2 separate regions of the Homo sapiens genome follow, and region 2 is linked to region 1. The links are contacts of gene promoters, found by promoter capture Hi-C in blood cells and fetal thymus (Javierre and others, 2016). All regions are on one chromosome and are shown on one strand. Each heading gives the region's core, a stretch centred on a gene start or on the middle of the fragment in contact. The rest is flanking DNA. Distances are from core to core; before and after follow the strand shown. Region 1 holds the start of HTR1B (5-hydroxytryptamine receptor 1B). Region 2 holds the start of LINC01621 (long intergenic non-protein coding RNA 1621).

What was found. Contacts are between HindIII fragments. The CHiCAGO score rates a contact against its expected background, and 5 or more counts as called.
Region 2: a contact is called between a fragment that was not itself captured here and the fragment with the promoter of HTR1B in region 1, in 1 of 17 cell types (total B cells). The highest score is 6.2, in total B cells.

What each region holds. Positions count from the first base shown.
Region 1 is chr6:77,460,390-77,468,037 of GRCh38, forward strand. HTR1B (5-hydroxytryptamine receptor 1B) reads right to left here and starts at 3,102. Exons shown (of 1, transcript NM_000863.3): 1 at 535-3,102. The coding sequence starts at 3,014. The coding sequence ends at 1,842. All of the region lies in intron 5 of LOC105377864, which reads left to right. RefSeq lists a silencer at 1,968-2,112 and enhancers at 5,832-5,881, 6,092-6,151. The HindIII fragment of the contact is 3,027 bases long and covers 460-3,486 here.
Region 2 is chr6:79,805,436-79,813,083 of GRCh38, forward strand. It overlaps LINC01621 (long intergenic non-protein coding RNA 1621), which reads right to left and starts at 6,811. Exons shown (of 5, transcript NR_131786.1): 1 at 6,685-6,811; 2 at 6,092-6,115; 3 at 1,779-1,906; 4 at 461-613. RefSeq lists an enhancer at 1,037-2,236. The HindIII fragment of the contact is 1,008 bases long and covers 4,458-5,465 here.

The DNA.
Region 1 (7,648 bases), core at 1,852-4,351:
GTTTCAAGCAAGGAGTGAATCCATTTCACAAAGACAACTTGCTTCTGCAGACAAAAGGTATCAACTGCAGAATGCCCTCTGAGGAAAGGAGTGTGAATTTTCTTTGGCATGTTAAATGCTGTACATATACATTTTTTTCCGTGCAGATAATCCCTCAGGGCTACTTCTTATTAAAATATACATTTTTTTCATATTTTATTTCATGACTTTATCCTGTATTAGGGAGCTCTCAGAGGAAATTTGAAATAACTAAGTATTCTTGAAATTTGAAAAGACTGATAAATTTAAAGTATTCCAGATATTATATTAATTGAGATATCAGGTTGGTAACAAATTTACAAAGGTCAAAAGCTTGCCAGTTTCCTGATTGTTAGTAAGTCTGAGGTTTGGTTCTGCAATTTTTTCTTTTTTAAACAAACAAAAAACAAGACAAAAACAGGCTCAATTTTAGTTTCTCTAAGCTTTTCTAAAGTTCTTATATGTCATTTTCTAGCAATCTTTTCTCCTGCCCAAACTTCAATAACAACAACAACAAAAAAGAAACAAGTTTATTTTCTTTTCAATATCGTTTTTAGGGCCCTTAACTGTATTTTTAAGGTTTCTGGAGAAGGAAGATAGTTCTCTTGGTTTCTTTATATGTTAGCACACAAGGAATCACAGATGGGAAGGAGAGTGCAAATGACTATCAGATAAAAGTTTCATGCATTTTAAGATTTTTTTACAAGTCAAAATATACATCCTCCTATTGCCCCCACCCCATTCCTCAATTGTGTAAGAACTATCCCCATGTCATCAGTCTCCTTCACATCTCACTAAATTGGATAAGAAATAAAGACACTTTTCTTGTTAAGAAACAGTATATTTCCAATACTAATCGGTTTTACCAATTGCATTAGTAAGAAATATAGCAGCAGTGTGGGCTGAGTCACCCATCATACCCTTCATTTATGGGGATTTAAATGTGTAAAGTGACAGGTACATGAAATTAAGAGAAAAAATAAAGCAGTCTGCAGACTTCGGCACTAGCACACATAATGGTTTGTTTGTTAGAGTTGTGGCTTGACAATCGCTAAACAGGAATTACAAAATTGTAAATCTGCAGAAAACAAACAATCATAGGTGTTGATTCTCAGTTTAACACTCCTCATCTCCCATTCCCACCCACCCACCCCCATATAGTTTCAAGTATAATAAAAATAGAGATCTCAGCATCAGAATTTTGCTGTTAACTCTTCAAGGTTTCTCTGCGCCATCCAAGCCACACATAGGGTTTGAAGCACCAAATCCACAAGTTTCTCCAACCAAGTTTAAATAGACAAAAAGTGAAGACTGAATGATGCCAAAGTAACTGTTCTTAAATTAAGCTGTAACACAAAGTTCTCCCCCCAAAAACACAGGGCATTAAGCGTCTAGTTCAAGTACTGCCAGGCTGTATGTAGATCTGTCTCAGACAGGCTTCAGACAACAATTACAAGTACACTGCTTCTAGTGGGCATTATCCACGATACCAAAGCAGGGCAGGGATTCCCTTCCATTATCAATTTTTAAAAGTTGCAACCCCCTTTGGGATTGGCTGCCGCAGGGTCAGTGCTGAGCCCGGGGCTTGAGGGGAGGAAGTGAGCCTCCTCCTGGGCAGGGAAGCTCTACATTTAGTTTCAACACTTCTCCTTTCAGAGCTCTCTCTCAGGACTATTCTGGCTTCTCAGGATCCATTGCCCTTGCCCAGGAGAGAGAGCCTCGCTGGGACCCAGAAACCGCGAAAGAAGATTCGACCTACCTGTGGAACCAGACACAACTTGGTCCCCAAAGGTCGCTTAGGCGACCCCACTGCAAACGGCAAGTCAACTTGTGCACTTAAAACGTATCAGTTTATGGAATGCTTGTTTAAAGTCCTCATTGGACATGGTATAGATTATGGGGTTGATGAGGGAGTTGAGATAGCCCAGCCATGTGAAGAAGTCAAAGATGGCTAGGTGGAACCAGCAGGCATCTTTGCAGATAGGCATCACTAGGGAGATGATGAAGAAGGGTAGCCAACACACAATAAAGGCTCCCAAAATGATCCCTAGGGTCTTGGTGGCTTTGCGCTCCCTAGCGGCCATGAGTTTCTTCTTTTCCAGCAGGGCGTCGGAGACTCGCACTTTGACTTGGTTCACATACACAGGAGATCCGGATTCGCTGGGCACGTCGGGAACCCGCGAGTTAATAGAGGTGACCGAGGACGTGGACCCGGGGGAGTCGGTTATCAGCTGGGCTCGGGTCAAGCGCTTGCCGGTCCTGTTGGGCGTCTGTTTCAAAATCCGGGAGCGGGCTTCTACGTAGATGCGGCCATAGAGGGCGATGAGGAGCAGGGTGGGGAAGTAGAAAGCACCCACCGTGGAGTAGACCGTGTAGAGGATGTGGTCGGTGTTCACCACGCATTCCGACACCTCCTCTTCGGCCTTAGCCTGACGCCAGAAGAAGGGCGGCAGCGAGATAGAGATGGAGAAGACCCACACCAGCGCGATCATGACCGCCGCCCTCTTGGGAGTCCTTTTAGCTGAGTACTCCACGGCGTCCGTGATGGCCCAGTAGCGGTCCAGGGCGATGACACAGAGGTGCAGGATGGAGGCAGTGCAACAAGTGATGTCCGACGACAGCCAGAAGTCACAGACCACCTGGCCCAGTGTCCAGCGGCCGGTGACAGTGTACATGGTGCTGATGGGCATCACCAGGATGGACACAAGCAGGTCGGTGACCGCCAGAGAGGCGATCAGGTAGTTAGCCGGGGTGTGCAGTTTCCGGGTCCGGTACACTGTGGCAATCACAAAGGCATTGGAGAGCGTGGTGGCCAAGGTGATGAGCGCCAATAGCATAACCAGCAGTACTTTCCAGGGTAGGGAGATGGAGTCCTGGTAAATGTAGTCCTTGGCGCTGCAGTTTTGGGAGGGAGCAGAGGATAAGTTGGCTTGAGGAACCCAGGTCTCGGAGCCCGCGGGCGGCGGTGGAGCGCACTGAGCACCCGGTTCCTCCATGGCTCTCCTCGCCCCAGCTCCGGAGCGCAGCTCTTGGGCATGGAGCGGACGAAGGAGAGGGCGGAAGGACCGTGGCGATCGCAGGTTTGTCCCCAGTTGATAGTTCCGTGAGTTCCTCAATTATTCCTCCGCCCAGGTTCACAGCTGAAACTAGAGGTCATGGGTGCGGCAGCCAAGGCAGGCGGGCGCCTCCCCTGCACTTCCAGAGCGCCTAGCTAAGCCGCCGCGTCTGTGGTTGTTCCTCTCCACACCGGGTCTTAGACCTGGGTTGCTAAGAGCTGGCCCACCGAGCCCTGCTCCGCTCCAGCTCCCTGGAGGCGTCTAGTGCAGGAGGGTGAAGTACTGCTTGAGGAGAAGGCTTTGACCAAATGGGATCTCTTACCCCAGTTGCTTGAGGCTGAGCGTCTCCTAACCTGGACGCTTTTGGATCTGCAGACTTTGCCCACAGGAGTTTCCTAGGTGTAGAGACCAAAGCTTGCAGGCCAGCGAGAGGTCCCGAGATCTTGCATTCCCACCCCTCGCCCCAAGCTGGGGCACTTTTGGGGGGCTGCAGCGGCCGCCAGAGCTGGGTGGGGTGAAGTCTAGGAGCAGCGCTGCGCCGCGCCTCGCGCCGGAGCTCTGCCCTCCCTCTCTTTTCACTCTCTGGCCACTCGGACGAGCTGCCCCGCGGAGACGGAGCCATAAAAGGGGGGACACGGGGGCTGGAGTTGCGGCTGCTCGGGCCGCGCCGCCGCCACCGCCACCCTGGTCCCACGGGAGCCACTCGGAGCCATGCCACTGGGTGCGCGGGTCTGGAGGACCTGGCGCGGCACACTGGGAAGGGGCAGGTGTCTGGGGGAGCTGGAGGGACGCGGCGTGCACCAGCCCGGGAGAAGCGTGCGAGCTACGGAGCAGATGGGCTCTTTATATAGAGTCCAGGTCCGGTCCGCCAGAGCAGTGCAACTCGTGCGGCGCGGCGGGTGCGGACGCCCGCTCCCCATCACCTTCCCTTTTTCTCTCTCCCTCCCTCTTTTCCCCCCGCCCTGTTCCTTTCCTGGCCAAGGAAGCTCCCGCCGGGTCCTACCGCCCTATCTCCCCGCTTCCCACCCTGGGCCATCCTCCCAGCCCTGACAACCTGGAGCTGCATTTCTGGTCAGGGGAAGAAGGCGTCCTGTTCTCGCCTCTACGGACATCAGAGCTTGCTGCGCTGACCTCCAGTGAGACCCATGTCCTTAGCCATGGTCACAGGTTTAGTCCAGCAGTCTGGCCCTAGGCTCCTGCCTACCACTCCCACCCTAGGAGGCCAGTGTTAGGCGGGGAAGCCCTGGTCTCTGACCTCTCCGCTCTAAAATCATATCCAGCCCTGATGGCCACACCCAGGTTAGGAGGCACCAGTAATATCGCTGTAGAGGGCCCAATGTTTGCATTTTGTACTTTGCCGTCCTTAACTCTTGATACAATAAAAACTATTTTTTCATCTAGTTTTAGAAATTTGTGTTTTTCACTCAACTATGAGTCAACAGGGAAAAAGACAAGCTATCTGCGAAAATGTAAAAGTTATCACAAACAGAAGCCAACTGTATGTGAAATTAAACCTTCTGCTCCACCATCCTCTTCCAGCTGCTCAGTGCTTCAGTGCCTCTGGAAAACAGTTGCCAGTAAGCGTGTTCCTTCCAACAGCCTACCTAGAAAGGAGGTCATCAGAATTCAAGAAAAAAGGGGGATGGTGGGGCGGGGAGGACTGGAACCATCATCAGCACCATCTTGTGTGTCTCCTTTGCCTTCAACTAATATGTGGGAATGTCAGCCATAAGCTGCAGCATGCAATACCAGTACCTAGGTCTCATGACCAGGGACGGATCCCCTGTCCTCAGTTTCTCCTCTGACCTCAACAGAAACAAATGTAGGGTAGAGATGCAAATCAGAAAGTATGAAGAAAAGCTCCAGGAAAGGACAAGGTATTTTCAGCTCGAAGGATTAAATGATCCCCACTACGAATTCCTAGAGCCTAGATCCATGTTTGGCACCTAGAGTGTATCTAATAAAAACTGCATTGTAAATGAATTCATCTGTTTAAGCGCACATATATTTTAAAGAGAATCATTCTGTGTCAGAACCTAAGGCTATCTGATCTGATCCCTCCACCCAGTTTTAGAGGAAGAGTAATTGAGATCCTTTGAAAGAAGAGCTTTTTACCCAAGGCAATAAAGCACAAACCCAAGTTCCCTTAATTCCCGGTTCTCTAAACCAGGCAAGCAGGCAAAAAATAGAGTGCCTACTCTATGCTGAGTATTTTTCTAGGCATCCGAGGTATGGAGGCCAGTGGGAGTAGACTCAGACCCTCTTTTCCAGCAGTTTACATTCTAGAAGAGACAGACAATAACTACATGAACAAGTAAATAATTAATACTTATACTTTTCTGTAGTGTTAAGTGTTTTGAAGAAAAACACACATACACACATGCATGCATTGAGAGTGAGGGTACTCCTTTAACTAAGGTGGCAGCTCTTCAAGGACGTCCTCTAGATGCGGTCTGGGCTGCAGCAGCCACCCTGAGGATAAAAGCACAGCCTTCTCTCTTTTTCTCCTCCAGTCCTAGCACCTAGCATTTTGCCACCAACCTTAAGCCTCATTTTCACCACATTTTAAGGGATCCTTCCCATTCTCCCACCCCATCCACCTAGATAAACAATTATTTTTGTCAACTGCAGCGCTCACTTAGAAACCATAGAAGAGGGAAGCAAAGCCGGCGAGTTTAAACCGCTAGGTGGGGGCATTGGCCAGGACGGATCAAAAGTGTGTGCGATTGCGGGTGTGTCCTGTGGGAGTGCGGGGTGCCAGGAAACAATTTTCCCGTTATCCTAGGAGAACTGGAAACGATTAGAGACAAGTGTTAAAGGGATGGGAAGCGGGGGAAGGCCGACAGGAATGTAACCAGCTCCATGCGACCTTTCCTCTTTTAATTTCTGCTCGGGAGCATGGGACGGAGAAAAAACAAAGCAAAATTTGTTCCCCACACGGTTTTTGGCTTTAGCGGTTTGGGGACCTGTGGCTTTCTCCAGCCATGCCTCCACTGCTTCGCAGAGTCCCAGACTCCCAGAGGAATCCGCCCCTTGTAGGCAGTTTGATTTTACCCTCTTTGGTAAAGAGCTGCTTAAACACACACCGCCATCATATTGACCGGATGTTGGCAGAGTTCAGTGAAGAACCCCATTTCCTTAACCTGACTTCCGCATTTCAAGTATTCCTTTCTCACTTTAAAACACATAAAACATAGGTGTTTGCACAGAGGCGCATGTGTGTGAAACACCCAAGAGAGAAAGAGACCCTGTAAAGTCGCCTGTGCCTGGGTCACCCCTTCGGAGTAGGGGTCGCTGGGTAAGGTCCAAGTGCCAGCTCTGCAGTCCCCAGCGGCGCTAGAAGGAACCTCCAGGCAAGTTTTGGGGGAAATTCACCTGACAGGGGAGGAGCAGAGAGGGAATCAGTAGCGGAAGGGAAAGGGTGGAGATGGATTACCTGAGCGCAGCAAAACTTAGTTGAGTAGAAATAAGCTCCCGTATGAACACCGGGCACTAAAACTGCGAATTAATGTGGTTCCCTTATTATCAATTCCACGCACGTGTACGTTTGGCAGAAGCTGAGTAAGTGGAGAATAACTCTGGAACTGAAATGAAGTCAGTGAACCGACACAAAACCAGATCCTAGCGGTGAGCTGGCTGCGGAGGAACCAAAGAAAAATGAATCCTCGAGGAACCCTCTCCCATGCTAGGAAGATGTAGTTCTACAGCTGCAGCACCAAATTCGAGGCGCAGGCTGGGAAGTTTAAAGCGCAGCGCTAACCAGACTGGACACTGTCAAGGGAAGCATACTCTGCCTACAGCAACCACAAGAGATATCTCACGGAATTTATTGCAACTCAACTCTATGTAAGCTGGCAGTCAGCTAACCTTAGTCAGCCCTAGCCAGCTCTCTTGCCTGCGGCGACTGAGTCTTGCTTTCAGCATCCCTAGAGTCTTCCATCCAGAGAGTAACTATTGAAAGAGGTCCAGGCCCAGGAGCAAAGAAAGTCCTGATTTTATCTTTGCTTTGCTGAAAGAAAAACGTTAGAACACTCATGCGCCTGTCACTTTTCTCCTTTGATACAGGAAAATACAACCCCGCACTCACCATCCCACTGCTTGAGAAATCTGGTGTGGAGGCCTGTCTTGCTGCTTCTTTCAAATTCTGCTTCCTCCATCTATGGCCAGCATATATATATATATTTTCACTTCAGAAACGGGCAGCAGGAGACCACCAGCTCATGTGTGCACCATCCTAATGTGTGCTGGCAGCCCATTTCTAGGTTTATCTTATACTTCCTCCAGTAACTATTCCTTAAAGAACTGACTGATGGCAATGAAACTATCAGGTCCACCCAGTGACTTGGTTCTTACCATCCTTTGTGACTTCCTTGATGAAAACTATGAAAATGTTCAGATAAATGACCATATACATACATAGATATACATGTAATTTTTGCGGACAAATTCTGAGGATTTCCAAACCATATGAGGCCCAGATCCCTTTCCATATTCATTGGCCCTCACATTAGGCCTTTGACCTGATATTTGTGTCATGGTATTTACATTCCATCTGTTTTATTAGAAATTTTGAG
Region 2 (7,648 bases), core at 3,712-6,211, 2.3 Mb after region 1:
GTTGACACGGTGCCACAAATTGTGGCTCTCCAAAAGGGGACATTATATTCAGTGTTCCCCAAACATATTTGACCACAGAATACAAAATGGAATATGGTGAGACTGATGTGCAGAATCCACTTTGGGAAAGGCTGCTCAGGCCCTTCATTTTACAGCTAAATAAACTGAGGACCTGTGAAATGAAGGAATGTGTCCAAGCTTGCTCCATTAGCCAGGATTCCTCGGGAAACAAATGGAAGCATCAAGAGAGTTTGAAATTTAAAAAAAATGATTAATGTAGGCAGGATTAGGGAAGCCAACAAGATATAGTGAGACACCCAGGTGGTGGCTCTTGCCACCCCAACCCTAAAGGGGAAAGAGAAGGAAGCTTGTTACTGGAGCTCAGCTGAGAGCTGGAGAAACGGAGGGGCTGCCTGTCAGAACTGTCATGGGGTAGGGAAGAGGGGGATAAATACATGACCTCAGCCTGTCTCTCCTCCTGTCCTCTCCTTTCCCACTGGTGCTGCCCATTGGCCAAATCCATCTGGAAGCCAGAGGGCGGAAGCCTGGTGATGCAGTTTGTAGAGGTCAGCCTCCCAGGCACAGAGCTGAGCAGAGAAGGGTGAGCACATATCTGTGGGGCAGGTGGGGAATAAACAGCACAATTACATAGCTAGTATTTTGCCTTTTTCATTTTTTAAAAAAAGTTTACCTCATATTTTATAAACTTATGTAAGTTGGCTTAATAAAATTTAATGCAATATAAAACAAAAAATGCTAAAAACATAAAGCAATGGTTTTCAAGATGTGGTCTCAAAGTGTGATTTCCAGGGGTTCCCAAGACCCTTCAGATCTGCAAGGTCAATTTGTAATAATACTATGATGTTACCTCGTGTTTTCCTTTCACTCTTTCACAAGCAACCCGTGGGTTTTCCCATGCTGAGTGATGATGTTATTGACTGCTAACGGAATGTGTGCCTGTGCATTCTCATGATTTAAAATTCATCCCATTTTAATTTCTAATGTAGTAGATGATAAACATTACTCAAATAAACACAGTTTCTTTGGGTCCTCAATTATTTTTGATGTAAAGAAACCCTGAGACCAAAATGTGAAAGAACCACTGATGTAAAGGTAGCCAAAGGACAGATGTGTCCAGGTGAGAGGTGAAGCCAGCTGGACTTCCTGGGTCGAATGGGGACTTGGAGAACTTTTCTATCTAGAGGATTGTAAATGCACCAATCAGCACTCTGTAAAAATGCACCAATCAGTGCTCTGTATCTAGCTAAAAGATTGTAAATACACCAATCAGTGCTCTCTATCTAGCTAAAGGATTGTAAATACACCAATCAGCACTCTGTAAAAACGCACCAATCAGCACTCCATGTCTAGCTAAAGGATTGTAAATGCACCAGTCAGCACTTTGTAAAATGGACCAATCAGCACTCTGCAAAATGGACCAATCGGCACCCTGTAAAATGGACCAATCAGCAGGACATGGGCGGGGCCAAATAAGGGAATAAAAGCTGGCCACCCAAGCCAGCAGAGGTAACCCGCTCCGGTCCCCTTCCATGCTGTGGAGGCTTTGTTCTTTTGCTCTTTCCAATAAATCTTGCTGCTGCTCACTCTTTGGGTCTGCACTACCTTTAAGAGCTATAACACTCACTGCAAAGGTCTGCGATTTCACTCCTGAAGTCAGCGAGACCACGAACCCACTGGAATGGAGAAACTCTGGACACATCTGAACATCTGAAGGAACAAACTCCAGATACACCATCTTTAAGAACTGTAACACTCACCACGAGGGTCCAAGGCTTCATTCTTGAAGTCAGCGAGACCAAGAACCCACTGGAAGGAATACATTCAGGACATACAGGTACTTGAAAGGAACTATTCTTCATGCTGGGCACCAAATCTTCTAGTTTATCTAACAGTAAAGTCGATAGGAAACATAAGGGTTAGATGGTAAGTCATCTCTAGAGCCTGAGATGTGACTTGGGTAAGTTTTCTAACAACAAAGTATAAGAAGCCCTTGTGTGGAGTTCATGTATAATGATCTACTTATTTAAAAACGATATATGGGATACTGGATAATAAAACAAAGTATCTTTATTGCAAGAGTGGTGCATCAATTTCCTATTGCTGCATAATAAATAATCACACATTTGATGGCCTAAAAACCATACCCATTTGTTATCTCACAGTTTTTGTGGGTCAGGAATCTGGGCATGTCATAACTGGGTTCTCTGCTCAGGGTCTCACAGGGCTGAAATCAAGGTGGATTGCATTCTCATCTGGAGGATGCAATGGAAATGCTAGGATCTGCTTCTAAGCTCCTGCAGGTTGTTGGCAGAATTCATGTCTTTATGACTGTAGAATTAATGGCAGCTTGCTTCTTCAAAGCCAGCAACAGAAATAAGAGTCTTTACTGCTTCAGGTCTCGAACTTCAGGGAGGGCCTGGACCCTCTTTTAAAAAGCTCACTGATTTGGCCAGGCCCACTGAGGGTAAATGCTCTTTTGTTTAACTAAAAGTCACTTGATTAGGGATCTTAATTATACCTGAAAAAAGTCCCTTCGACTTTGCCATAAATATAATTACAGGAGTGGTATTTCCTTACTTTTGTTGTATCTTATGGTTAAAAGCAAGTTATGATTTCCACCCACATTCATGGCAAGGGGATTAAGAGCATGACTCATTAGGGGTCACCCTATGGTGTATCTGTCAGAGGTGGGGAACAGATTCAACCATAATCAGAAGGGTTTTAATACAAAGAGTTTTAATACAAAGGCAGCACAAGTACATGACTAAACTCCTGAGTGAAGACCTTAGAAGTAATATTCTTTTGGGCAAGATTCCCCTTGTGTGAACAACATTCCAGACTCTCAATCAAAACACTACAGTCAAAATGAGAACACAGAAATATAGAAGCATTGCTACCTTGGACAAATGAGGCAACGACAAAGATGATGTAAAAGGTGAATCAGAATCAAAATAAAGCCGCACCAGGATCCTACAATTCTGCTACTAATTGGTTTGGTGAATTTGGCACCTCTAATCATCATTGGCAAACACTAATCATGCTGTAAAAGCTAATTAGGATTAAGGAGCATTATCCGGGAGGCCAAGGGGAAGTGTATGAGGTTTTAAAGGCCCTAATATATGTCTTTGAATTTGTTAGACTGATATTTTAGTATTTTCCAAAGCTCTCTTCCTGAAAACTGTTGAGAAAAAAAGCTGATAGGATTTTTAAATGAATATCCTACAGATGAGGGGGTATTGAAGGAATTTTCTAGGAATAAACTAGTCTAACTTGGAGGTGATAATTTCCTTCTGTAAAGATGGAGGAGGCCACTCTCAATGCCCATGAAGCAGAAACAATACTTGTAGAATTTATCAGAGGAGCTCATTCATCTAGATGATAAAGGTTACTATTTTGGGGAGAGGGGAACAACTTCAGTGGCTCTCTGTGCTCTGTACACAGTCTGCTCTCAAAACTGTTGATTGAAGATGAGGATGAAGATAGTGAAGATGAAGAAAATGATAATCCTCAGAGAGTTCAAAACCCTACCTCTAAATAGCTGTCTTTGCTAATAATGCCTTGTTACTAACCAGGGCCATGTGACATGAGATACACGACTGGCCTCCAGCTGAGGAAGGTGAGAGAATAGAGAGGAGAGGGGACGCTGCCATGTCAGGGAGCTCTTGGGTGGAAGGCAGACAGCCTCAGAGACAGATTTCACCTAATGTAAATGTTTCCCAGAATGGTTGCTATTTTTGTTCTAAGTAGTTTGCTTATGCCAAAAGTGCATATTTCCCCAACAATCCTCAGGAAATAAGACACAGAAGTCTGTCTTTAATTTTCATGATATCCTGCAATTTAAATCAGTCTGGGTGCATCTGTGTGGTTTTTATTTTTTGGTATTGTTTAGATGTAATTAAGCAAATCAATACACAGGTACTTAATTATATATTAACAGGGCCATTTGTTAACAAACTTAGTTATAGGATGGAATTAAACTGTAGTAAAGATTTAAAAACCTGCAATAAATTCAATTAATATCAGGTCATTACTCAGAATCTGAATTTATAGATATATTACCATCTTGACAGGAATTTATATTGATTGGATATTTTGAATATTAATAAAATATAAAATTTAGTATTAATAAGTGGGACTATGGTACAATTTTAAAAAGAAAAAAACAAAATTGTGGTTTTTCTAGTTCTTTTAGAGTTGAAGGGGTTAATATGTTTCTCTGAGTCTCACATATTTGTATTTGCCTCTATGCCTATCAAAATTTTATAAAAGCTACTCTAAGATTGGTTTTCTTAATTTTTGTTTTTCGTCCATTTATTCGTGTTTATTAAGGAAAACGGTAATGGAGCTAAAGGTAGGTGAGTCGGCTGTAATTAAGGAAGCTACGGTAATTAAATTATTGTACGGCCACCCCTCGAGCTGTCATTTGAAAGGATGAAAGCTTAATTTTTCCATCAACAAAGTCAATTTCATCCAAGCTGTTGTTTAGAATGCCACATGCATTTAAAAATTACATGTTTAAACTAATCAGGAGCAAATGGAATTTAAACCCCTCTTCAAAATAACATGGATAGATTGTAAATTTATGGAGCATTTTCACTATAGAAAATTAAGTCCATTCAAAACATATCCAGGAGTCATCAGGCAAACAGGGCAGTACTGATGTAAACTACCCACTGTGTGAGCTTAAGGCAGAAGGGTCTCTAATAAATTCGAGTAAATAGCAGCTGAACTGGCCTCACCATGGCTTATGTGTTCAACCTAGCAAGGAAAAAGTTAGCATTAATTGGTACACTCTAGGCTCTCTCAAAGGAACAGGCACTTAGAGCAATTAAGTCAGATGCAGAAAAACAGCTCTGCATTGAAAAGCTGACAGCAGGACTCCTGCACAATATACGTAATGAGTGGCTGAGGACTTTAATGGATCGAGGCTTGGAGACTAATGGACAATTAATGTAAAACAGATGACTTCCCTTGGAGATGACAGTCTTTTGAAAGGCGCTTCACCTGCTGCTCGAACAAATGCGGCTAAAGTGAAATGAAAACAGGAACGTGGTCTCATTGAACGAGGCTAGAGCTAGTATTTGTGTCCCTGCTTTCTCCTTGAATAGTTTCAAAAACTAGGTCAGGAATTTAACAATTCCCTGCAGCTGGTGGTGCAAGCCCCCTCTCGTGGCCTCCCGCCATCCAGGGTGGCCTGAGATCACTGACTGTGCCTCTTGAGCCTTTTGAGAAGCTGCCCTAGCTCGCCTTGTTTAACAGGCAAAAAGAAGACAGGACATATTATAGTGTTCCAGCCTCACTTTTAAAATGACAACAAACCACCCCAACATAGAAATTGCAGTAAATACATATTGGAACATCTATTGGAAATTTAAGAACATGGTTTCTTCTCAAATTAGGCTATTTTAATTTTAAATTAAGATAACTGGAGTCCTTCAAATTTAAGCTTTATAAGCACAGACAGGCTCCCTCCTTATGATAAGTGGTTGTGTACCGAAAGCAAATAATTGTTTGCAAAGAGAAACTCATTTCCTATAGAAACAATGCTGCGGTGGCATTTAATTTTCCACGTGATCTTCCTGAAATCTGTTTAACCCAGATGGAAGCTTAACACAAGTCAGCCTGAGCCCTGGGTCCTGGAACAGGGAGGAGTCAGCTACTCCTGTGGGAGAGGGGAAAGAAGAGGGAGACAAAGATGTTTCCCCCTCTTAGTGGGAAATGGGATTGGACTGAGCTATAATTTTGAGTTACAAACTAATCCTTGGCAATTTTCTATCTTCTAACATCCCTTTACTCAACACTCAAGAAATCAGTGCCTTATGTCATTTAAGTCGCTAGGCATTTCACCCCTGCCCCCAAGCCCCCAACTCCTCTCCTCACTACAGATGTACATATCTTAGCAATTCCCTATTTGTTCTCCTGTAATTTTTCTTCCATTTTCTCATAACAGTACATCTCATCTAGAAATTGAGGAAAGCAGCTTGTATGGGCTAATGAACACCTTTGGTTGATGGCCTGAGCACTCCCAGAAGCCTCTGCATATTAAAGAAAGAATTGCTTCTAAACTCACATGCATGTCCCATTGACAGAATTTCTGTAAGAAAAAAAAAAATCAAGTCAAAATTTCAGGTATCTAATTCAAAAAAACCCACAAGTGCAGGAGAAACGTATTAGGATATTTGTTATAGCAATGAAAAGTAGAAACCACGTAGAAGTCAATGAGAAAATGCCTTAAGTGTGATATATTCATATGATGTCAGATTATGCAGGAGTTATGTGGGTACATTAGAAAATTAGCAAACGTCACCCTTTTCTCTCAGCCTGATTAGGTTTCAGCCCCCATGTGCCTGCTCAGCAAGACATGGTTGAACAAGGGTGAGATTTGCACAGCTCAGTTTATAAGCTCTGCCCCTCCCTGCCAAGTGAACACAGAGCCACGGCAAGGGTAGAACTTGTATTAAGGCCACAAATATTAATATATGTAGATTGTATGTTTTAATCCAGAAATTCATGTAGTTGATGTGGCATCTACTAAAAGTTGGGTAGGCAGGAAATACCTATTTTCTTCAAATCAAATTCAATATGGCTGCCATCCCCTATGTCACTGAATTGCAAGAAATTCAATCTTCATTATTTGTTTCCTCCCCTCCTCCCTGGGTTTACCTAAAAATTGGGAGGATTATTTGGTGCCCAGAAAATGAGCAAGTCTCTCAGTGGGTCCAGAGTGCTCTGAATCTTCATTCCGAGGCTCTAACTGAGGCGGCTGGCTCTCCTGGTTCTGCACCAAGCTGCTTCCCTTCAAACAGCATTCTCACCTGAGTAGCAGCTTGACTGGGGGCAGTGCCAAGAAAGGGGCTTTGGGAATGTCCCTTCCTCCCATTTCAAAAGCTTCCATGTTCCCTGGACAAACTCATTGACCCATTCCCGCCCGTGCCAGCCCTCTCAGTGAGCTCAGGTTTCAGGCAAGGGAGGTAGGTTTCCAGGTGGCCAGGAGGAGCAGTTACCTTAATGCAGTGGTTCTCAGCACGTGGGTCCCGTAGTTACAGTTAGAAGGAGAAATACCTAATGTAGATGACGGTTGATGGGTGCAGCAAACCACCATGGCATGTGTATACCTATGTAACAAACCTGCACGTTCTGCACATGTATCCCAGAACTTAAAGTTTATATATATAGGCCAATTCTTGATTCTTGAACTCCATCCCAGACTTGCTGAATCAGAAACTGGGGGCACAGGCAGCATGCTGCATCTTAAGCCTTAAAGGAATCTTAAAGGTCAGGGCTTTCTGCTCTGACCTCACAACAAACCACCCAGAGGGCAACGGTTCTGGCTACCTCCTTTAAATAGAGAAGGGAAAAATAGAGAGGTAAAAGCAAAACAGTCCTCATTCTCTCAGATACCTCTATAGCAGCAAAAAAATAACAAATAAAAAAACCCCACATATATACCTTAATGATCTCTCCCCTCTGATAAGGCACTGTGTAAAGCAAAGTTGAGATTTATAAAGGATAAAGAAAACCTGAACTCATTTGATCCACACGCCACCAACAAATCCTCGCCCCTACCTTCCAGGTTTAAGAATTCAGGAGGCTTTATCCTAAAAAAAAAGCATGCTGAGAAATAAAG